2 separate regions of the Homo sapiens genome follow, and region 1 is linked to region 2. Evidence: promoter capture Hi-C in 16 types of primary human blood cells and fetal thymus (Javierre and others, 2016). All regions are on one chromosome and are shown on one strand. The core of a region is centred on a gene start or on the middle of the fragment in contact, and the rest is flanking DNA. Distances in the headings are between cores, read along the strand shown. Region 1 overlaps TRAF3IP2 (TRAF3 interacting protein 2). Region 2 holds the start of FYN (FYN proto-oncogene, Src family tyrosine kinase).

Region 1 (4,180 bases), core at 1-2,500, 270 kb after region 2:
AGCAGCAGTCAGGGCGAAAGGCTGGGAGACACGTGTCTCTGCGGGAGGGCTGCCTGGAATTGAGGCCTTATTACTGGCTCTAGCCAAATAGGAGAAAACAGGGAGTTTCTCGAATTAGTTCATGTCCCATTTGGGTTACCCAGGAAGGATAGTCTGTGCTATTGTCCACAGAGTCAAGGCAGGCCAGAGAACTGGCAGACAAGCCCAGCTCCAGAAGCCAGAGTTACTGCTGTAGCTGGACCTGGAAACCACTCCTCAGCTGGACCAGTCACTGTGTGTGGGGCCTTTAATGGGAGGGGAAGGGAAACTATGAAACACATCCTAATACCATGTAAGGGTGATGACTGTGATTAGAGACATTATTAGATGGCGGATACACAGAATCCTTAACTTTTTCCAGACCGTGACTTAAAAAAAAATTGTCATTGTTTCTTTTTGGCAATTACTTGCCATCAATACAGTTCAAACAGGCCCTAGCTGACTGGGATGGGCTGGTGCAGGACTTTTGGTTTCTGTGGGATGTCCTGGTGTAGTCCGTGTCATGTTTTTAGGCATTTCTCTCTATTCCCCTGGGATGAAAGGACAGGAATTTCAAGATATTTCACCTGCAATGAGTTCCTGATTTTATTTTCAAACAACGATGCACCATTATCTGAAAGCAGGCTAACTGTTGTGCACTTGCCAGCCTCGCTCTAATCCTTAAAGGCCACACACCACAGTCATTCTTAATCTGCTGCTGCAGCTACCAGTCACTCCATGATGGAGCATCAAAAGATGGATAATGTAGTTACTCTGCTCTGTTCCTTGCATGGGGTGGGTTAAACAGAAGTGAGGTCTGAGTAATGTACCAACATGTCGGATAGAAAGGTTCTTAACTCAGGGTTACTCATTTTTGGAAGGTGTAGAGACAGGAAATGTTAAAGCCTGCTTCTCCTGGGATTAAGGAGTTAGTGACTTTCAAATGCTCTGAAAAGAAAAAGAAGAGGAGAAGACAGTCATATCTGCAGGCATTCTTCAACAGGCATTCAGAAAGATTATGGTGGGGTAGTTTGTCTAAATGAAATCTTTGTTTTACACGTTGTAGAATGGAAATCTCAGGAATATCCTGAATTCAAATCATTTTTCTTCTGCAGGCAATTTTAAATTAGCTTCTAAAAACATATATGAATTGCAGGCAACTGCTGCAGAAAAAAAAGAGTGAACACAGATGAGGCATATTCAACTTTAAATTCCTTTCAGATCCAATGAAATGACCCCTAATGTTTGATCACATTTCCTTATCAAAACAATCCTGCAGTCTGAAGGATTTTTCCATGAGAAAGTGTCTGAGGACTGGAATCAAGAAGCTGCCCCCCGGGCCTCTCCTGTTTCTTCCCAATGCGTTGTCACCAAGATATTTTTAGTTCATGAAACTCAGGCTGTCCTTTCTCCCACTTATGGTCTTTGCCTCCCGTGCCCAGCAGGCCTCCTAGAAGCACACATGTGCTTGGCTGTGACTACTCAGCTCACTCTGTAGCTGTGTGTGCACGCCTTGTGTGTGTGTGTGTGTGTGTGTGTGTGCACACCTTGTGTGTGCACAGACCTTCCCGGATACCAGGAGTTGTAGACTGGCTGAAGAAGGGTGGGCTTCCATCCATGGGGTGATCCTTAGGTCTGTGCTGGTTTGGCTTGGTTCCCTGATAAGGCAGCTGAACTCAAGCCCTTTAGGAGGGCCAGGACTGACCGGAGCTCCCAGCCTGTGCCCCTCTCCTCGCACCCCACAGGCCGCACCCCACAGACTGAGGCTGCCTGGGGTCTTGGCAGCTCCCTCAGCAATGAGGGATACTTGCTCTCCGCTGCCTCATTGTTTCCCTGCAGTCAGGATGCCAGTGTTTTTTCCCTTTCCCCTTCCCAGAGTCAACAGGTCTCCCTCCCCGCTCTGAACTCTCTTCCTACTCTGAGCTGTCTGTCCAAACTCTTCCTGGCCTCCCAGCTTACCCTATGACACTCTTACCTTTCACCTATATTCATTCTTTCCCTTCTCTTCCAACTGCCCCTTCTCATACCCAGCACTACATACAAATTACAAGTAAATAAGTGTCTCTCCTACACCAATAAAAGGCAAATACAAAAAAATCCTTCAGCGTTTCCCCACTTTCCTTACTTCTCTTCCGTTCTCCTTCCTTCCTTTCTCTCCCTTCCTCTTCCTCTCTTGGTTTTTCCTTTCTACCCCTTCCTCTCCTTCACTCCGTGGCTGTGGCTGAATTAGGGATCACACATGTGCTTAGAGAAACCATCTTATCTGAAGAAACAAAAAAACAAAAACCAAAACAATGACAACGACAGAAAAAAAAAAAAAACATGGGCTGGTTTGAGGTTGTTCTCTAAATGTTTATTATAACTTCTAATGTGATGGAGTCAGTGTGTTCCCATTAGTCCTTCTCCTCCTCATTTAGTAGCTCAGAGGAGTCCCAGAGCAAACTTCCTCAAATCAGGTCGGTTCATACTGCACTGCCTTCAGCCTGATGTGAGTCTTACTGTGCTGGGTTTATGTCCAAGGGCCAGTAAATATTCCCTTCCTTCCAGGGCTCACCACTGTTTCAAATCCTCTGGCAAGCCCAGTGGAAGAACTTCTCTGTATGGGAAATTCAGCAAGTAAACTTGGAAGTATTTGTTCATTGGAGTTTGAATCTGAGCCAAACAGTTCACTCAAAACCAACCTTCCACTCAGCAAACCAGTGTTATGAAAGTTTGCATGCATTTGGGCAGGAAACAAAGGACATTAATGAGTTTAAAGATTTTTTTTTAAATCCATGACTTTTGGACATTTATTAAAAAGATTACTCTCTGGGGAATGAAGTAAGGCCTTGGGAATCTTGTAATTGAAAGTTTCTGATCCGAAGTAGATCTCAGGATCCTCCCAGCTGTAAATTTATAGATTTCTTTTTAATGTCCACCTGAAATATTCATGCTGTGTGTCTCTAGGACGCTTCAAACCTATTCCTGACTCAAAGAAAGCTTAAGAAAAAATCCAAGCAGTTGTGATCACCAAGGCCTGATTATGGAGGAGCTGTTAATATGGTTTATTAATTACTCAGGCTGCTCACTCCTGTCCTTCCTCTGTTCCTTGCTGTGCTATTTGTCTTCTTCTGGGGACATAACACCTTCATTAAATCCCATCCGTCCTTGCCTTAGAGTTGTCCCCTGGAAGATAGCTCCCCTCTAGATGCATCACCATTTATCATCACCCTTTGTTGGTGCTCTGTCAACCAGTTTTCAATTTATTTTGAATTCAGTTAATGATTAAAATTTAATGAGATCCAGTCAAATGCTTTTCTCAAATCAAGATGCCTCTGCAGCCTCATCTGTATCCTCTTGTGATGGCGTGAAGGAAAGCCATGGCAGATTTCCAGCCTGGTGATGCTGTACAGAACACAGGTGGCCTGCTTCCATGCCTCCTCAGCTTCAAGGTGAATGGCTCTGAAGCATATTTATTACAGAATCTCCTAGGGGTTATGTGGCTTCCCCATCCCCTTTCTTCCCTCCCAATAGCTGAACCAGTCAGTGCTCCCAACCGAGATGCAAGCGGTTAAGTGCACAGGATCTGGTGCCAAACCGCTTATATTTGAATCACAGCTCTGCTACTTAATAGCCATGTGACCTCGGAAAAGTTACTTACCTTCTCTATGCCTTGCTTTTCCTGTCTGTAAAATGAGTCTGACAATAGTACTTAGGAAATTAGAGTGGGTGTGAGGATTAAGTAAGTTAATATATCTATCACACTTGGAACAGCATTTCCCACGTAGTCACCATTCAATAAATATTAACAATGATTGCTAACAAAGAGTAAAGTTCCTTAAGTATGTCAGTTTCATTAGGTTTGTATTTTGGCTTATCAGTGTACAATCTATATCAACAGTAAACTACAACCCTAGAGCCAATGGTTACCATGACCTGTTTTTAGCACCAGCCTGTTGCTCAGAATGGTTTTTATATGTTTAAAGGGTGTCTTTTCTTAAAAAAAATAAAAATAAAAAAGGAGCAGAATATGAAACAGACACAGCATGTGGCCCATAAGGCTTAAACTATTTACTATCTGTCCCCTTTGCAGAAAAAGTTTGCCAACCCGTGATTTATATGGTTTAATGGAAAGAGCTTGGAGATCTAAAGGCTTGATTTGGCTTCACCCATCACTTGTTAA
Region 2 (4,482 bases), core at 96-2,595:
AAAAAAATCCAGTAACCTCTGTATACTGTCACCTTGAGTTAGTTACTTAACTTTTCTTTTCCTCAGTTTCCTCCTCCATAGGATGCAGATCATTTAATAAATGTTAGCAACTTTTCTTAAAAAGTAGTGTGTACAAAAAGAAAAAAGTCAGCAAAAGGGACAGATTTTTTTAAACTACAGTAAAAACAAGTAGTGGGCCGGAAAGGCAATATTATAGATTTTGAGCACAGAAGCAGAAGCTGATTCACTTATAATTTCTTAGAACATTAGATTTGCTGAGGGGGAAGGTAGGGTTCTTGCCAAAATCATTAAGGAGAGCGATTCTGAGTATGCCTTAAAGCAGAACTTTCAGTAAACAGGAATTACCTATAAAGAAAATCAGGAAGCCAAAGTGTTTCTTTTTATGAAGTTACATCCTGCCATAGAAAAGCTGGATAGGAAATAAAGACCGATGCACTCCCAACTGTATACTAAACCGGCAATTATTTCATCAAGGGAAATATGAGCAAAAGCTCAGATTCAGTGAAGGGGAAAAAAACATGAGAAGTTTGAATGTTATGAGAAACCAAAGACAACCAATGACTACAATTAAACGAGGTTTTTTGGGGGTGGGGCGGGGAATGTACGAACAAATCTCTGTCATTTCAGGTTCCTTAGTCGCCGCTTGGCCCCTCCCCCTATTTCAGTAATACTTCCTCCAGACTTTTGCTAGAAAAAAAATATAAATGAGTGTCCGCAGAAATAGGGGACTGATAAAATGATCCTAATCTCCTTCTCCTCCTCATTGTTATTTGTTGTGCGTTTCCACGTTTCAGGACAGGATTCTACTTTGCTCCGTACTCTTTTCAGTTTGATCAAAGAAAACGCTGCTATCACCGCCCAATTTTCCATTTCATCCTCTCACCCTCAAATGAAAAGACACCAGAAAGGCAAGATAGCCCTGTCTCGAGGCAGTTTCCCATGGTTTTGGGGGAATGGCAGGTGCCAATCTGCAGCAGCAGCTGCAACCTTCCGCAAAGCGGAAACTGCAGTTCACACTCTCCGCTCTTTCTCCCGCCCTACTCCGCCACCTCACAACTCCACACAATCCTTAAAAACACACAGACCTCCTCCTCCAACCTCGCATTTTCTTGCACACCCTGCACCGCACGCACCCTGGGATGCCCGCTGCCACAGTAACGCTCAACCCACTCGGCGGCCCCACCTACTGCCGTCCCGCCCACGCCCCAGGCGCCAATGGTTGCGGCTCGCAGCTCCCAAGGGGCTCTTTGATAGGGCAGCCGGGCCTGTCACTCTCGAGGCGCGCCCCGCCCCCTCCTCGCTCCCCTCCGGAGCTGGAGGGGCAGAGCATCAGCAAGAGTAGCAGCGAGCAGCCGCGCTGGTGGCGGCGGCGCGTCGTTGCAGTTGCGCCATCTGTCAGGAGCGGAGCCGGCGAGGAGGGGGCTGCCGCGGGCGAGGAGGAGGGGTCGCCGCGAGCCGAAGGCCTTCGAGACCCGCCCGCCGCCCGGCGGCGAGAGTAGAGGCGAGGTTGTTGTGCGAGCGGCGCGTCCTCTCCCGCCCGGGCGCGCCGCGCTTCTCCCAGCGCACCGAGGACCGCCCGGGCGCACACAAAGCCGCCGCCCGCGCCGCACCGCCCGGCGGCCGCCGCCCGCGCCAGGGAGGGATTCGGCCGCCGGGCCGGGGACACCCCGGCGCCGCCCCCTCGGTGCTCTCGGAAGGCCCACCGGCTCCCGGGCCCGCCGGGGACCCCCCGGAGCCGCCTCGGCCGCGCCGGAGGAGGGCGGGGAGAGGACCATGTGAGTGGGCTCCGGAGCCTCAGCGCCGCGCAGGTAAGCAGGCGGCGGGGATGCGTCGCGGGAGGCCTCGGGGATGCTGCGGAGAAGCCCGGCCGCCGGCGCCCCCGCGCACGCCGCCCCCGCCGCAGGGCCCGGTGCTGCGGTCCCTTGGCCGCCAGGGCGCTCCGCGGGGCTGCCGGGGAGTCGGTGCTTGGGGTCTTCCCGCGGTTGCACCGGAGGACACCCCTGCGGGGTGCGGCCCCGAGGCAGCGCGGGGATGGGGACCCCATTTCCTCGCCCGCAAGCGGGCGCCGGGTGAAAATGGGAATTGGCTTGGGGGCGAGGCTGGCCCAGACTCCGCCCCCGCCCTCCTTTTGGGGCCCCCCGCGGGGACTGGGGCTGTGTGTGTTGTTTTAATGTCAGGGATGATGTAATCACTTAATAATTGATGCCCCGTGCTGCTTCCCTCCCCACCCAACCCCTGCCCCACTCCTCCACCTCTCGGCCTCCTCCCTCGGCGGCGGTCGCCTTCTCCAACCCATCCTCCTGCCTATTTCTGGCACCTCCCTTGCACTTCCCCCATCCTCCCCTTCACTCTTCCTGTGCCACCACCCACCCACCCTTCCCCTTTCCCCTGTGCTGGAGCCTTCCCTCCTCTTCCTCTGTCCCCCACCCCTCTGCTCCCTCCAGCTCTTTTCTCCTTCCTTTCCGGCTCCCTCGCTGGATTTCCTCTCTACTTCCCTAGATCCATGGCTGTTTTTGTTTGGGCTCCTCCCCTCTGTTATCTCTGCGGCCACAGGCGGAGGGGACTGGGCCAGAAGGAGGCCACCGAGCTTGGGCCCAGCAGAGATGTGCTGGGACTCACTGGGAAGAGGGATAATAAAATCACCCTTCTTGCCCCTCCTTCCCCCAATAAATCACACAGACTCGCCGGGTGTGTGAGTGTGAGTGTGACACAAAGAGCCCTTTCAGTGCATAGAGAGGAGACACACAAAGTACCCTAGGATAGGCACGATGCTTCTTGTCTCTCTTCCCTGGGGCTTCCCTTTCTTTCCCATGAAGCAGTTGATCTCTCTGAGTCTTTCCTGCCACATTTACCAAAAAATAAAAGAACCCCCGGATGCCGGGTGGCAGGTGTCGGCATTTTGCTGTGTTCAGAGACCGGTAGTGTTGACTGGCAGCTGCAGTGTTTCTTAGATTTAAGGGAACAGTTATCCCAGCAGTCTTAAGAGTTGCTTTACTTTTAAGGTAGCCTCCCCATCCCCTCGTTCTTTCCCCTGTCCTTTTGGGAACAAGTACTAAGAGCTGGGGTAGAGTAGATTGGTGTGGGGGTCACAAGAATTTTGTTTCTGAATCAGAATTAAATTGTTATTTGATAAGAGGGAGGCAGCCTGAATGGCTTCTTCTCTCAAGTCTAAGAGGGCACTGTACTGAAGTCTTTTGAAATGAAATCCTGTCTGCCCAGTGATGTTGTTTTACCCTTTTATTGAAGTAAATACCTGGGGACGTGGATAAAACGGTCTAGAGTTAGCATTTGGAAGACCACTGCAGACTGCCTCTTGCCTGCTTCAAGGTAGTCTTGGGACGCCTACTTCCTTTCTCACCACCCAAGCAACTGCAATACTTTCCACCCTATGTACTGTCTTCTTCCCCAGTCCCTGCTCCATGGGTACCCTGTATTCAGATGAAGGGACTCACAGACTTTTGGAGGAAGTGGTTTAACTATCTGAGGCTTTGAGGCCACTTGGCTATGAACTGGGGCTGTAGAGAATCTTGACTGAAGTCTAAACCATTTGATGTTCCCTTTAAGGAAGAAATGTTAATGTAAATCTGGGGGCTTAATGTTCCGTTTTGTAAGCCAGTGACTATTACATGCTTAATCGATATTGTCAAAACTTAAGTTGAACCTGTTCTTTCCTAAAAGTATGGCTCCTCGACTATTTTTATAAGTAACAGAACTGTAGGTTTAGTCTTCAGTAATTTTATTAGAAAAGAGTTATGATTCATTAAATATTTACTTACACACTTTTTAAGAACATTCATCGTGGAACTTTTTACGATAAAAAAAGCAATAGGGTTAATGAGTGTACTGTAAAAACAAAGGGTCGTTTGTTTGATGCCAGACCCAGGAAGGAAAGCCAGAGCACATAAACTCACACTCTGTTGACCAAGTTTAAGAGACTTAATGATAAGGTTGAATGTGAGCAAATGCACACTCTGCTTTCTCCTGGGTCTGGAATCTCCAACCCCATCTGACTTGCTCGAAGTCCTTTTTAACCTTTGGGGCCCAGCTCAAATGTCATCTCCTCTGTGAAGCCGTTTCCATCTTCTCCTTTCCAAACAAATCATCATGTTTTGGTTTCAAACTTTGGCAGCAGGCATTATGTTTCGCATGAGTCTATTTCCACCATTAATTGGTCAGCACATTGATAAAAGGAACCTTATCTTACTTATCTTGTTTCCTACCAAGTTTTATCTTAGCGGGTATTCTGTTTCATTTAACATTAAACAAATGTGAGTTAGGTCTTTGGTATGTGCTCAACACCTGTATCAATTAGGCTAATGTTAGCAGGTGTAACAAATAGGCCTGCAAATATATAATGGCTCAAAAGCAATAGACGTTTATTCTTGCTCATTTAATAGTCAAAAATTCATGTTTCTGGTCGGTAGGTGGCTTTCCTCCATGCAGTGACTCTGGGTCCCACAC

The links. Contacts are between HindIII fragments. The CHiCAGO score rates a contact against its expected background, and 5 or more counts as called.
Region 1: a fragment that was not itself captured here is called in contact with the fragment with the promoter of FYN in region 2 in 3 of 17 cell types (non-activated CD4 T cells, total CD8 T cells and total CD4 T cells); the score reaches 7.9 in non-activated CD4 T cells.

What each region holds. Positions count from the first base shown.
Region 1 is chr6:111,600,465-111,604,644 of GRCh38, reverse strand. The region is part of intron 1 of TRAF3IP2 (TRAF3 interacting protein 2); the gene reads left to right. It also overlaps TRAF3IP2-AS1. Among named protein-coding and RNA genes, the nearest start is that of TRAF3IP2, 3.3 kb to the left of the region's middle. The HindIII fragment of the contact is 3,499 bases long and covers 1-2,999 here.
Region 2 is chr6:111,870,315-111,874,796 of GRCh38, reverse strand. It overlaps FYN (FYN proto-oncogene, Src family tyrosine kinase), which reads left to right and starts at 1,345. Exons shown (of 14, transcript NM_002037.5): 1 at 1,345-1,829. LOC102724646 (a long non-coding RNA gene) reads right to left here and starts at 1,345. Exons shown (of 3, transcript NR_168402.1): 1 at 1,107-1,345. RefSeq lists silencers at 1,216-1,305, 1,426-1,675, 1,826-2,225 and an enhancer at 1,274-1,773. The HindIII fragment of the contact is 15,284 bases long and covers 1-4,482 here.